4 separate regions of the Homo sapiens genome follow, and all the other regions are linked to region 1. Evidence: promoter capture Hi-C in 16 types of primary human blood cells and fetal thymus (Javierre and others, 2016). All regions are on one chromosome and are shown on one strand. Each heading gives the region's core, a stretch centred on a gene start or on the middle of the fragment in contact. The rest is flanking DNA. Distances are from core to core; before and after follow the strand shown. Region 1 holds the start of PRKCA (protein kinase C alpha). Region 2 overlaps PRKCA (protein kinase C alpha). Region 3 overlaps PRKCA (protein kinase C alpha). Region 4 overlaps PRKCA (protein kinase C alpha).

The links. The method cuts DNA at HindIII sites, captures the fragments that hold promoters and counts their contacts. A CHiCAGO score of 5 or more calls a contact.
Region 2: a contact is called between a fragment that was not itself captured here and the fragment with the promoter of PRKCA in region 1, in 1 of 17 cell types (endothelial precursors). The highest score is 7.6, in endothelial precursors.
Region 3: a contact is called between a fragment that was not itself captured here and the fragment with the promoter of PRKCA in region 1, in 2 of 17 cell types (M1 macrophages and M2 macrophages). The highest score is 5.3, in M1 macrophages.
Region 4: a contact is called between a fragment that was not itself captured here and the fragment with the promoter of PRKCA in region 1, in 1 of 17 cell types (endothelial precursors). The highest score is 6.1, in endothelial precursors.

What each region holds. Positions count from the first base shown.
Region 1 is chr17:66,300,816-66,304,334 of GRCh38, reverse strand. PRKCA (protein kinase C alpha) reads right to left here and starts at 1,722. Exons shown (of 17, transcript NM_002737.3): 1 at 1,311-1,722. The coding sequence starts at 1,483. RefSeq lists an enhancer at 427-928. The HindIII fragment of the contact is 2,886 bases long and covers 693-3,519 here.
Region 2 is chr17:66,607,190-66,610,751 of GRCh38, reverse strand. All of the region lies in intron 3 of PRKCA (protein kinase C alpha), which reads right to left. Among named protein-coding and RNA genes, the nearest start is that of MIR634, 180 kb to the left of the region's middle. The HindIII fragment of the contact is 3,067 bases long and covers 299-3,365 here.
Region 3 is chr17:66,586,766-66,590,230 of GRCh38, reverse strand. The region is part of intron 3 of PRKCA (protein kinase C alpha); the gene reads right to left. Among named protein-coding and RNA genes, the nearest start is that of PRKCA-AS1, 170 kb to the right of the region's middle. The HindIII fragment of the contact is 4,365 bases long and covers 1-3,465 here.
Region 4 is chr17:66,647,509-66,650,598 of GRCh38, reverse strand. The region is part of intron 5 of PRKCA (protein kinase C alpha); the gene reads right to left. Among named protein-coding and RNA genes, the nearest start is that of MIR634, 140 kb to the left of the region's middle. The HindIII fragment of the contact is 4,812 bases long and covers 1-3,090 here.

The DNA of each region.
Region 1 (3,519 bases), core at 473-2,972:
TTCAAAACTTTTGTGTGGTGACGGGGATCTGGGAAGAAGGGTCACACACCTTTTGAGGATCAGATGAAAGCTGTAATTCTCTCACCAGGAAAAAGATTCACAAACACAATTTCCCTCAGTTTTACAGGGTTCAGAGACCCCTGAAGCCCTTCTATGTATCGATTCTCCATAAGCCCCCAGGGACCCTCCGAGTTAAGAATGCCTGAATTCATTGGCGATTACCTGATCTCTGACCTCTGGCCCTTATATTATTTTTCTTAAATAAGGCCTCTGCCCTCATCAACAGGGTTACAGGTCTAATCTCGAGTTGACAGGGTCTGTTTCATTTTTTTTGAGACGGAATCTCGCTCTGTCTCACCCAGGCTGGAGTGCAGTGGCCCGATCTCGGCTCACTGCAGCCTCCGCCTCCCGGGTTCAAGCGAGTCTCCCGTCTCAGCCTCCCGAGTAGCTGGGATTACAGGCGTGTGCCACCACGCCCGGCTAATTTTGTATTTTTAGTAGACGGGGTTTCACCATGTTTGCCAGGCTGGTCTCGAACTACTGACCTTAGGTGATCCGCCTGCCTCGGCCTCCCAAAGTGCTGGGATTACAGGCGTGAGCCACCGCGCCTGGCCGACAGGGTCTATTTTAAATGAGTCCCTCTGCCCTTGTGCCATTTGCCTGCTAGAACTCCCCCTCCCCCACTGCAAGCTTTCAACAGTTTGCTCTCTCTCTCTCTGCTCACTCAGAAAAGTCAGTCTCTCCGTGCCCAGTAGATGCAGCCTACAGTAGGCAGGGGCCCAAGATGCCAGCGCAGTCCAGCCCGATGGGAAGCACAAACACAACCCCCCCACCCCGAACGCGCCCAGCCTGGCTCGCCAGCAACTTGGACCGCGCGCAGTGCAATCGCCGCCGCTCCCCCGTTACTCCGGGGCGCGTTTCTCCGGGAACCTTTGCCCCCTTAGGGCCTCTCCTCCTCCCCTGTCCCCTGGGCTCACACCCCGGCAAGCGGCCGCTCCGCTGGGTGCGTGCGGGTGGGCGCGCCCGGGGAGGTGAGGGGCCCGGCCCGGAGAGGGATCCCCTTCGCCACCGTACGGGGCCAGCCTCCCTCTCGCGCCAGGGGGTGTGTGTGGCGGGACGGCGACGTCCCGGGAGTCCTGCCCGCCGGTGTCAGGGCCGGGCGCGCGTGTCACTCCGGGCGAAGAGTTCGGACTCCCGCCGGTTCCAAGTTATCGGAGTGAGCCAGCCCCGGGGCGGACGCGCCGGAGCGCCGGGTGCCGGGACCCGGAGGCGGGGAGGAGCGGGGCAGGAGTGCCCGGCCCGGCACCTACCAGATGAAGTCGGTGCAGTGGCTGCAGAAGGTGGGCTGCTTGAAGAAGCGCGCGATGAATTTGTGGTCCTTCACCTCGTGCACGTTCTTCTGCCTCAGCGCCCCTTTGCGGGCGAAGCGGTTGGCCACGTCCTGAGACGCCGTGGAGTCGTTGCCCGGGAAAACGTCAGCCATGGTCCCCCCCAACCACCTCTTGCCTCCGCCGGGGAGCTGCGGCCGCGGAGGGCCGGGTGGGCGGGGGCGGCGGGGGAGAGGTGCGGGCTCGGGGCGACCCCGGGCGCGGGGCGCGGGCCGGTGGCCGAGGTCGCGGCGAGGGGGCGCGGCGGGGGCCGGGGAGAGTCGGGCTGGTGCTGCGCGGAGCGGGAGCGGGAGCCGGAGCCGCTGGCTCGCCCGCTGGCCCCAGGCTCACTGACAGCCCGGTGCCCGGCGCTCGCGCTTCCTACTCGCGGCGGCAGAGGCGGCCCGGAGCGGCACCGCCCACCGCGCATGCCCCGAGCGCGAGGCCGCGAGGACGAGCGGCGGGGGCGCGCGGGCCGGGCGCGCGCGGGGGTGCGGCGAGGGTGCGGCGGCGGCGGCGCTGAGCGGACCGGACCGAGTGCGGAGGAGGCAGCGAGTGCCTTGCGGTGCTGGGAACACTGGGCAAGGGGAGGCGGCGGCGGCGGCGGCGGCGGCGGCGGCGGCGGCGGCGGCGGCCGGGGGAGGGCCGGCCCGAGTGGGGATGCGGGGGAGGAGGCCGGGAGTGGCGGGTCCGCGCTCCTCCGCCGCCTTTTTCTTTCCTCCCCTTCCTGCGCCCGGCTCTCCTCCCTCTCGCCCTCCTCCGCCTCAGTTCTCCTCCTCTTCTTCCGCTCTTGCCGCCCGGCCTCCTCCTCTCCCGGTCTTCCTTCTCCCACTCCCGCTCTCTCTCTTGTCGACGGGCTCGGAGTCCTGCGCCACCCGTGCCGGGCCGAGAGGAGCCCGCGTCCGGGAGTGGGCTCCACGCGCAGCCCCTGCCCCGGAGCCTCCCGCCCGGTGCTCACCTCCTAACCCCTCAGCACCCGCAGCAGGGAGCCCCTTCCCCATCCTCAGGACCCCCGGTGTCTCCAGGGCACGACGCCCGTGTTTTAGCTGCCTGTACCAGCTTGAGGTTTCACCTGGCCAAAATGTCACTTTCATCACGTGTGCACTAAAAGACCTAGCCCCTAGACCTTCCTACAGGAGGAAGAGAGCGATTTTTAAATAATTAAGCATTGACCCTTTCCCCTACCTTCTCTTCTTGACCTATACCTTATTTCACCTGCGTGTGGTAGAGACTTTTAATTTGTACGTCGGGCATTTATCACCACGTGGGATGGTTAAAGGACTTGTCTTAGGTATTTATCCCGTTATTCAATGGCCACCAGAGCGACGATGTTGATTATCAGGCTTTCTTGATTTTACAAGTCCAGGACCTTAATTTAGAAATCATTTTGCATCCCAAGCTAATTACTGCAATACTGTCAGGTGCAGAGTGCAGCCAGTACGTTTGTAACTTACCAAGTAAAACTGCCTGTGAAAGAGTAGCGGGCATGGCTATGCAAAGGACGCAGGTGGGGATGCACCAGCTAATCACTCGCTGAATATTTATCAGGTCTGCCTGGAGGCCGCTAAAATACATAAGGGAAATAATCATTTCTCAGCGTTTCATTGGTGTTTTGTTTTATTTGCCAGATTCACGAAATCCCCAAAACGACTTTACGAGCTAAAGAGACCAAGAAAGAGAACACGTTTGATCCTTCAATAAATTTATGTTGAAAAAAAAAACTTTTCTAAAATACTTTCTTAGAGCATGTAACATAGGCCAAGTAGAGCTAATATTGTTTTCTTTGAGATTGCCTAATTGTGATGCTTGATGATAGGAATGTCCTTTATATTTTTAACAAATGGAAGCTCTCCTGACTGGCCGTCAGTGGTGCATGCACTTGACTGATCCATTTACAATCTCTTGAGCCAGTCTTGGTGCTTCAAGAGCCTGCACCTGCCTGGTATTCTAGCTGGTCAGAAATTTCGCCACTCATGGTCGCCCCTCGGGTCCAAGGAGTCAAAAAGGGAAGAAGCAAAGAGGAATGAAGAGCAGGGCATGTTGGGGAAATAGTCCCAATTCTCCATGAAACACTAGAAGCATCTCAAGCCATGGTGGTTTATTGCTTGAAAGCAGAAATCAAATGGAACATAGTGGAATGAAATAATTTCTT
Region 2 (3,562 bases), core at 583-3,082, 310 kb before region 1:
GAGACAGGAACTGAGTTAGGGTTAAAAACCCCTTCCTTCCCTTGTTCGGTGTGCTCTTGCGATCGTGACTGAAACAGGAAGCACCCTTCTGCAGAAGTAAATTTGCTTTGCTGAGATATTTTCTGTTCGAGTGTTATTTCCTTTGCGACTCAAGCACTCATTTCCAACATCCTGAAACAGAGCTAATCCCTTGGAATTTCCTGGGTGATGGGAGTGTCTTTTGTTATCATGGGGTGACTCTGGGTGGGTTCCTGGATACAGGCTGGTCACTGGAAAGACCAAGCCATGACTAGAAGCTTGAAACTTTTAGCTCTACTGCTCCCCAGTCTCCAGGAAGGGGTGAGGGTCTGGAGATGGAGTGAATCATCAGTCATGCCTGTGTGAGAAGGCCTCCATAAAAGTCTCTGGACTTCAGGGTTCAGAAAGCTCTGTTGATGGTGGGTCCGGGGAGGCCATGGAAGCTCTGGGCCCCTCCTCACATCCCTTGCCCTGTGCATCTCCTCCACCTGGCTGTTCATTTGTATCCTTTGTAATATCCTTGATAATAAACTGGTAAATGTAAGTAACGTGCATTCCTGAGTTCTGCGAGCTGTCCTAGCAAACAAGAGAACCCTAAAAGGGGGTCAATTTGTAGCTAAATTGGACATCAGCTATGGGTAACCTGTACTTATGAGTAGTGTCTGAAGCAGGGATGGTGGGGGGCAGTGTTGTGGGACTGAACCCTTATCTTGTCGGACCTGATGCTATCTCCAGGTAGATAATCTCAGAATTACACTGAACTATAGGACACCCGGTTGGTGTCTGCTGGAGAGTTGCTTTGTGTGTGGGTGGGGGGCAACATCTCTCCACATTTTGGTGACCAGAAGCACTTTGTGTTGAGAGTACAGTAGGAAAAAACACTTGTTAGTTTGTTTTTCCTGCAATACAAATTCTTGTTTTCACTGACAGTAAAAAAAAAATAAAATAAAGCCTTGCCAAAACCAAACAAAAGCCATGGTAGCCCCAGTGATCATTCCTTTAGTCTCAATTAGGTGGTATTTGTCTTTTTCCTTCCCTTTTTTTCCCCGTTCCCTTCCTCTTTCTTTCCTCCTCACGTTGACTCTCGGGGTTTCTGGTCAAATCATTCAGACAATTTGACACATTTTTAAGAAAACTGGCCAGCTGCCTGACAAAATCAATAAGATATATTTACATGACAGGCAACTTATCTATACACTGTGGTAAAGAGCTTTAGAAGGTTAAGTCAGACCGACAGGACTGATCGATGATTGGCAATAGGCAAAGTCACAGTACCATTGTTTTAATTTTCCAGGATGGAGCTGGTCTCTCCGGTTTGCTCAATAGACACTGCTTCATATAGACACGCATTACACTTTTCAGCACCTTTACTGCTCATTCATTCATTCATTTACCAGTGGCCTCACACACTAACTAGCGGCAAAGTAGTAGCCCCGTAACCTATGTTTGAAAAGCCAATAGCTACCTTGAAGTCCAATGGAATGGGTTTAAAAGGATCTTAGAAAAATGTGTGAAGAAAGAAAAACATCTCAAAAACACTCAACACTCCTCTGTGTTTAAAAAAAAGTAAGTGAATCATACAAGTCAGATTTATTAATTCTCTTTTAAAATGCTAAGAAGGTCAGCAAAATGATTAGTCTGAGGAGGCCATGAGGAGTTAAGGGCTTAGGCCTATGGGGCAGAAACAGGAGTTCTAGATCCTATATGAGTTCTTCATTCACGCAAACTGCATGGCCTCGTTCGCCTTCCTGTTCTCACCTGTTAAGGGGGAGAGGCGGATTGATTGTGCTGCCCAAACCTGGCTGATTTTCAGGATCACCTGGGAAGCTGTTATTTAATCTTTTTTAAAAGTCTTTTCATTATGGAAAATTTCAAATACATGCAAAGAGCAGAGAGAATAATGGATCCCTAAGTACCCATTACCAGCTAACACAACAATCAACTCTTGGCCTATTTCTTTTCAGGGAGAATAGCTCTACGCTCTTCCCTCCTCCTTCCCAACCTTCCTGGAGACCTTTATGAGAACAGATTCCTGGGCCATACTCCGTGGGTGTCTCATTCATCACGTCCATAACGAAACTGGAGGATTTTTGTTTGTTTTCTTCCTAAAGAGTCAGGTTTGGAAACCAGTGATCTGGAGGACCCCTGAATTCCTTTTCAGCAACAAATTTCTATCGTATAGGGTATACAAAACAACAAATGCCATTAAGTCCAGTTTGTGAAAAAATAAAAATGAATTTAATGTGCAGCATACATAATTTATAGTGCGTTAGGCCACTGATGGGAAAATATTACTCATTAAAATTTAAGTAAAATTTAAGTATGGATCTGGACCTTCAAGAAAGAAAAAGTTCTGTTTAATGCAGGCTTTGGAGAAACCCCAAGTTTTCCTGATTTTAGAACTGCAAATTGTAGATCATTCTAATGACTTGCTTGGAACCAGAGTGAGGCCCTCCACTCCACCACCAACAAAGTGATGATTAGGTAAGTGGGAACACTGCACAATAACCAAGCTCCAAAAGCAAAAGCCAATTGGTGTGCTCCAATCGGTGTGCTCCAATCAGTGTGCTTCAGTCAGTGTGCTCCAATCGGTGTGCTCCAATCGGTGTGCTTCAGTCGGTGTGCTCCAATCGGTGTGCTTCAATGTATTCCAAGACCAGCAGACGACAGAAGTCAGGGCCAACCTCTGGATGCAATAATCAGCACCACCAAAACCCTAATGCGTATCACCCACTCAGAAAGTTCCAAACTTGTAAAAACTGTCTTTGGCAATTTTATCTTAAAATGGAAGAGACTTCAGAGACCATGTAGCTACCCAAACAGATAATCCACCACCTCATTTTAGAATACTTTTAACCTCTTTTTACTGAAGGGTATGTGCCATCAAAATGACAACGTCCACTGAATTAAACATACATCCAGAGGTGAAACCTGGTTGATCCTACAGGCATCTCAAACAAACCCTGCACGTTGGAATCTGACTTCATGAGCCCCCGGCCCCCCACACTCTACCAAATACCGGACTGCTTGTGAGAAGCTAACAGAGGGTGGAATCTAGAAACAGCAGCAAAAGCTCTGAGCATAAGCACTCAAGAGTTCCCTGAATTGGCTAAGGAACCAGATGTTGCTACATGAAAATTAACTTTCTTAGTTTGACGCACATTCTTTGGGATCAATATCAAGACATAAGGGAGGAGAAAATGAGGTGGTATTTTCTAAACTGGACCAAAACAATAACTTTAAAAATTAAGTATATTTTTATCTTTAAATATGCAAGGCTCAGATTTTTGTTTAACTGAGGGGATGAAGTGGAGAATCCATGTCTCTTCCCCTCAAAAGGACAAGCTTTTAAAAGGCAGTTCATGGCTTGCTTGCAACAATTCTCCACTTAACTCACTGTATGTCCGATTTTTTCCCACAGAACTATGTAAATTGGGAAAGAAAGAGAATCATTCAACTCTAGAGTGGTTTGGCAAAAGTACAATTAATGAAAGGTGTTTTAAGCATATTTTTCTCTTATGGTAATAAATGCTTCATTAGTATT
Region 3 (3,465 bases), core at 45-2,544, 290 kb before region 1:
TCTCCAGAGAATTTCAGGCAGTTGACATCTACCTCCTGAAACTGGAGACCAACCTCCTCCCTCCTAGGGTCAGTTTCCTCATGTCCTGAGCCTGCTGCCTCCTGCCCAGCTGCCAGTGTATGGCCCCCAACCCCCAGGCCATGGACCGGTGCCTGTCCATGGCCTGTTAGGAACTGGGGTGCACAGCAGGAGGTGAGCGGCGGGCAAGCAAGCATTACCGCCTGAGCTCTGCCTACCGTCAGATCACCGGCGGCATGAGATTCTCATAGGAGCACAAACCCTATTGTGAACTGCACATTGAGAGATCTAGGCTATGCCCTCCTTCTGAGAATCTAATGCCTAATGATCTGAGGTGGAAAGTTTCATCCTGAAACCACACCACAACCGGGTCCATGGAAAAATTGTCTTCCATGAAACCAGTCCCTGCACCAAAAAGGTTGAAGACTGCTGCCCTAGACCATGAGCCCCTGACACAAGGGAGTGAGATCATCTTATCATCTTCGTATCCCCAATTCATGCTCAGTAAGTTTCCTCCAAATGAGAGCCCCAGACAACTGCCCCTCCCCATTATGCTAAACACCTGTAGGGTATACAACAAAAGTCGCAGAGATCAGTGTAACTTTCACCCTGCAATTCCAGGTCTTAGATTTTGGATGTTCACAAACATCCATGTACAAGAAGGTTCACTTAAAGATTGCTCCTTATAGTAAAAAAATGGAAATCAGCCACATATCCAACAAAAAAGATGTTTTAAAATCTTCAAGATAACAATGGAATACTACACAGCCATTAAAGCTGCCACTGTAGGAGTGTATGCATTAACCTAGGAAGACTTCTGAGACACGTATTGTGTAAAAAAACCTACAATCTAAAATAAGTATTTTATGATCACTTTAGTTATATGATATTCACATACTCATATGTATTAGAAAAAGTTTAACAGGATATATTTCAGGGTACTAACAGCCGTTATCTCTTGGTGGACAGAATTGTGCTTTTTGGTGGGTTTGTAATGAAATGAATTGCTTCTAGTTTGGGAGGATGGGAGCTACTCACCCATGAGCTGGTAGGTGTCAAGAAGCTAGTCTAAGTCTTTTATGGGTCATAAGAACTTAAGATCCCATGACCTGGAAGTGGGCAGACTTCACGTTCATCTGGGACTTAGGTAATTGTAAGTATCATTACCTAAGGTATCAGCAACTTGTTACTAAAGTCTCAAACAAGTGACCCTGGAGAACCATCAAGAACAAAGGCAAGTCCCTAAAGGTGATGCCTTAAAAAGGCAAAGCAAGACCAGTGCAGTGGCTCATGTCTGTAATCCTAGCACTTTGGGAGACTGAGACAGGTGGATTACCTGAGATCAGTAGTTCGAGATCAGCCTGGGCAACATGGTGATACCCTGTCTCTACAAAAATGCAAAAAATCAGCCGAGCATGGTGGTGGGTGCCTGTAATCCCAGTTACTCAGGAGGCTAGGGCACTAGAATTGCTTGAACCTGGGAGGCAGAGGTTGCAGTGAGCTGACATGGTGCCACTGCACTCCAGCCTGGGCAACAAAGCGAAACTCTCAAAAAAAAAAAAAAAAAAAAAAAAAAAGCAAAGCAAAATAAAACCTCAGAAAGAAATAAAAAAGGCTCATGTAATGATAACTGCATATATGGGAACTGTAATGATTCATTAGTTTAACACACCACCAACTTGTCTCAGGAGCAGAACAAATAGACCCTTTTACAGATGCTTCTATTAAAGGTTGAATGCTCTTCCCTATTTCTCATTTTTCTTTCATCAAAATATTTTATGAAAATGTCAAATCCCAGCAGAAGATAATTTGCAACTTATATCAACAAAAAATTAGTATCCAGAATATGTAAGGAATTTCTACCAATCAGTGAGTAAAGCATCACCTCTCTTCCTCATGCCCCAAAACAGGAAGGAGGAAAAAGGTGCTAGAGATATAAACAAACAATTCACAGAAGAAGCAACACTGATGGCTAATCAACCTATGAAAAGGTGTTTAACCTTCCCAGCAATCACAGAGAGGCAAACACCTGCTCTTTCACCCCAGCCACATGGAATCTTTTTGGTCAACCTGATAAAAGCATTTATTGGTAAGAATTTGAGGAAGTAGAATCCTCCAACACTGCTGGTGGAATGTAAATTGGTTCAGACACTTTGCAGAGCAAGTTGCCAAAGCTAGTAAAGTTAAAGATACATATGACTGGCAGTTCCCCTTCTGAGTACACCCCAGACCTAGGGGAATTCTCACATAGGAGAATCTCACAAGAAGAGCTACTGCAGGATATATATATATATATATATATATATATATATATATACACACACACACACACACACACACACATACATATGTATATATGTATATGTAGATACACACATATACGTATATATGTATACATATACACACACATATACGTATATATGTATACATATACACACATATACGTATATATGTATACATATACACACATATACGTATATATGTATACATATACACACATATACGTATATATGTATACATATACACACACATATACGTATATATGTATATATACACACACATATATGTTATATATATCTATATATCTATATCTATCTAATCAATCAATCTATCTATCTATCTGTCTATCTATCTATATATATATCTGTTTAAAAGAGCAGAAATGTGGAAGCAATCTAGCTGTCCTCCATTAGGAAAACGAACCAATTACTGTCATCATATATAACAAGTAAAATGAATGAACTAGATCTACATAAATCAATATGGATAAATCTCAAATCTATCAGGTTGGACAGAAAACAAGTTTCAAACGAATCTGTAGAGTGTAATACAATTTATATAAAATGTAAAACAACACAAAATGATGCTAGATTATAAGCTAGACAGATTTGCACATGCTGAAAAAGTGTACAGTAACACTGCACATCAACTTTGGGATACCTTGGAAGGAGAAGGATATAAGGGATGATAGTCCCCAAAAAATAACTTAAAATTAGCCCTAAGAAAACATTGTGTTAGAAAGAAATGTTCATAGAACTGTAGGAAAACGGGAAGAGATCAGACCTTAGTGATACCAGGAAACATACTATCACGTTCAACATCCATGGCCCCAGACCTGGATTCTGTTCATATTCTATCCCAGGAGGACAGACATTGTGAGGTTTCTGAGTAGACACTAACCACTGCCTGGACTCACAGAGACCATTCATAATGGCATCGTAGGAGCAACATGGCGGCAATAAAAGTTAAAAATAGGCCCTTCACCACCAACTCTGCCTTTGCTCCACAGCCTCACCTGTGTCTGTGCAGCCATCTAGAGTTCTAATGGCCCTCAGACCCACAACCCCAGTGCAGGTACAGGGTCTTCTTTATGTATCCCGACTGAGTCTGACATGTTATGGATATTCAGCCCATATTAACTGGTGATAGTGGATGATGACCATGAAG
Region 4 (3,090 bases), core at 253-2,752, 350 kb before region 1:
TTAACAAACTCAAGTTGTTGAGAAAATTAGACTCTTCTTCAGAATAATCTATCTGTGGGAGAGACGTGCTCCTGAAACAGCTCTAAAGCACCCGATATTTTTTCCATTTACTTACAAGATTAAATTGAAAATTGGTTCCCATGAGGGATTTTTTTTTTACTACTCCTATAAACCGAATTTACAAAACACACTAGAGTGTAGAAAACCTATTACAATCTCCTATCAGAAGAAGAAAAAAAAACCCCGACACCATTCTGATAATATCAGCACCACCGCCCAAAGGCAAAAAATAAAAATACACCACCAAAGCTCGGGGCTTTCCCATAAATACCCCACCAAGCTAGAAAGAAAACTCATCTCTGACTGCAAACGGAGGTTTCCATCCTGAAGCAGAGCTCCTGTCGGGAGTTTCTACGTTACTTTGGGAATTATCTTCAACCTGAGTGATTCTACATAGGTAAGACACAGTTTGAACTAACCTAGCAATTAACACAGCTGCTCAGGGTTCAGGTTTAAGTGCATTTTCTGAGAAATCACTCGCATCTGGACCATAAACTCTGCATGTGATGGCTTATGGTTTATATTTGTGTTCTCATGAAAGCCACCACCAGGCTAATTCCCACAGCCCTCTGACTCTCTCAATCGGAGCTCTCTTCCCTCTCTGTCTCTCAAATACCTACAGTATTCAGTCGGCTGCTTCTCCACAGGGTCCTTCCCTCTCTGTCCCCTTCCCCACCCTCAGTACCTCCCAAGGGTGTGCTATTTCATCACCATGTACTTGGTATTTAATTTTACTTGGATATGGGTTGTTCTTTGTTCTCTTCTTGTGTTACTCTTTTCTCCCCTGGTTTTAAGTCCCATGTTTGGACCTTCCGTGACCTCAAAAAACTTTGTGGGGTGCTGATTGTGGGTTCAGCAAATATTTATGGGTTAATTGTTTGTTCCAAAGGAGACTCTAATTAATAAGAGAGACTTGGAACATTCATAGCCTATGCACTGAAAGCAAGAGTGTGGAAGCCAGGCCCGGGCTGCGGCCCCAACTACATCACTTTCCACCTTGTAACTTGGAGCCATTTCCTTCCTTTCTCTCAGCTCCTTTGCTCATTTCAAGAAGGAGGATAATAATAGTATTTACTTCATGGGATTGGTTGGGGAGTCAATGAAGCAATGAATATAAAATGCTGAGCATAAAGGTCCAGTCCTATGAACAATAAATATAGAGCAAGCACTCAATAAATGGTAGCTATTGGTATGAAAACATTTCTCAAGACAAACCCATGCCTGAACTATTTGGTTGGGAGAAGGTGCAGGCAGATAATGGGCATGGGGGTGCCACCCATCATTGGCAAGCACTGCCCCAAGGGGGCTCTGCTTAGTACCACTTGTGGTCCTTTTATACTGAAATAAGATGAGTCTGATGTCTTCTATTTGGCTCTTTAAAAAAATTCCTAGTAACTAATGCGGGTACCTATTTTTTCTTTCTTTCTTTTTTTTTTTTTTTGAGATGGACTCTCGCTCTGTCGCCCAGGCTGGAACGCAGTGGCACAATCTCGGGCTCATTGCAACCTCCACCTCCTGGGTTCAACCGATTATCCTGCCTCAGCCTCCTCCTGAGTACCTGGGACTACATGCGCATGCCACCATACTTGGCTAATTTTTTGTATTTTTAGTAGAGATGGGGTTTTACCATGTTGGCCAGGCTGGTCTCAAGCTCCTGACCTCAAGCGATCCACCCGCCTCGGCCTCCCAAAGTGCTGGGATTACAGGTGTGAGACACTGCACCTGGCTGTAAGCACTTATTTTTCATAAATTTATCAGGTACTATAGTTATACAAGGGCATTAACATCGGGGGTTGCTGGGTGAAGGGTGTACGAGAACTCTGTACTGTGTGTGCAACTTTTCTGAAAATCTTAAATTACTTTAAATTAAAAATGTTAAAGATGTAATTACTAATTAGTTATTTCCTTGAGCCTGACTTTCCATACTTAACATTGGATTCCCTTCACACACATAACTGTACTTTAAAAATAGATTCCAATTCTTATGGAAACTGTCATCAAAATATCTTCTCTCCGCATGTGCCATTTAAATATTTAGCCATCCAATTTACCATCTGTGTGACTCTGGGTGAGTCACTTCATTTCCTTGTATCTCCGTTTCTTCATCTATAACGTAAGGATAATAAAGTCAACTTCTTCACAGATTTGAATAAAAGTTAGTACATAAAGTACTTAGAAAGCGGTCCTGTGGAGGAAGCACTGAATAGCTGTGAGCTGCTGCTACTATTTGCTGTGGTCTGAATTCATATCTTCAGATTGGATTCCCGGTGTGATAGTATTAAGAGGTAGGGCCTTTGGGAAGTAATCCTTTCGGGATAACCTTCAACCAAACGCAGAGCCTTATAAAAGAGATGACAGGGAGCAAGTTCGCTCCTTGCACCATGTGAGGACACAGCCTGCCCTCCTTCTGCCATGTGAGGACACAGTGAGAAGTGCCATCTATGAAGCAGAGACGGAGCCTTCACCAGACACTGAATCTGCTGGGGCCTCGATCTTGTACTTCCCAGCTTCCAGAATTGTGATACATCAATTCCCATTATTTATAAATAACCCAGTCTAAGGTATTTTGTGATAGCAGCCTGAATGGAATAAGACATTATTATTATTATTATTAATTAAACTTGCTGAATTCACATTCCTAGAGTGGAGCTATAGCTCTACAAAAATTTTTAAACTAATTCTCAAGGGACTTAGCCCAGAGAGTTGGCATAAGCAATACTGGCTGGCTTTCACATGCAAAAAGTCGACATCCAACCCAGTGAAAGGTCTTGTTCCTTAAGCTGACTCTACAATTGTGAGTCAAGTTCAACTTTTGGCAATGGTAGAGGAATTAGCCTGATGTAAGCTCTAGCACGATAAGGCCTGACCTTTGTCTTCCACCTGTGTACCTGTGCCACCCCAGCCAGAGCATCTGTGCTCTCTATGCAGTTTTAGATCTGCAAGGCTCTTGAGGTTTATAGGAGATACTGGAAGGTTCCGGCAGTACCATATGGTTGCTGCTTTTATTACAGAAGACGGCACGGGGCGTGT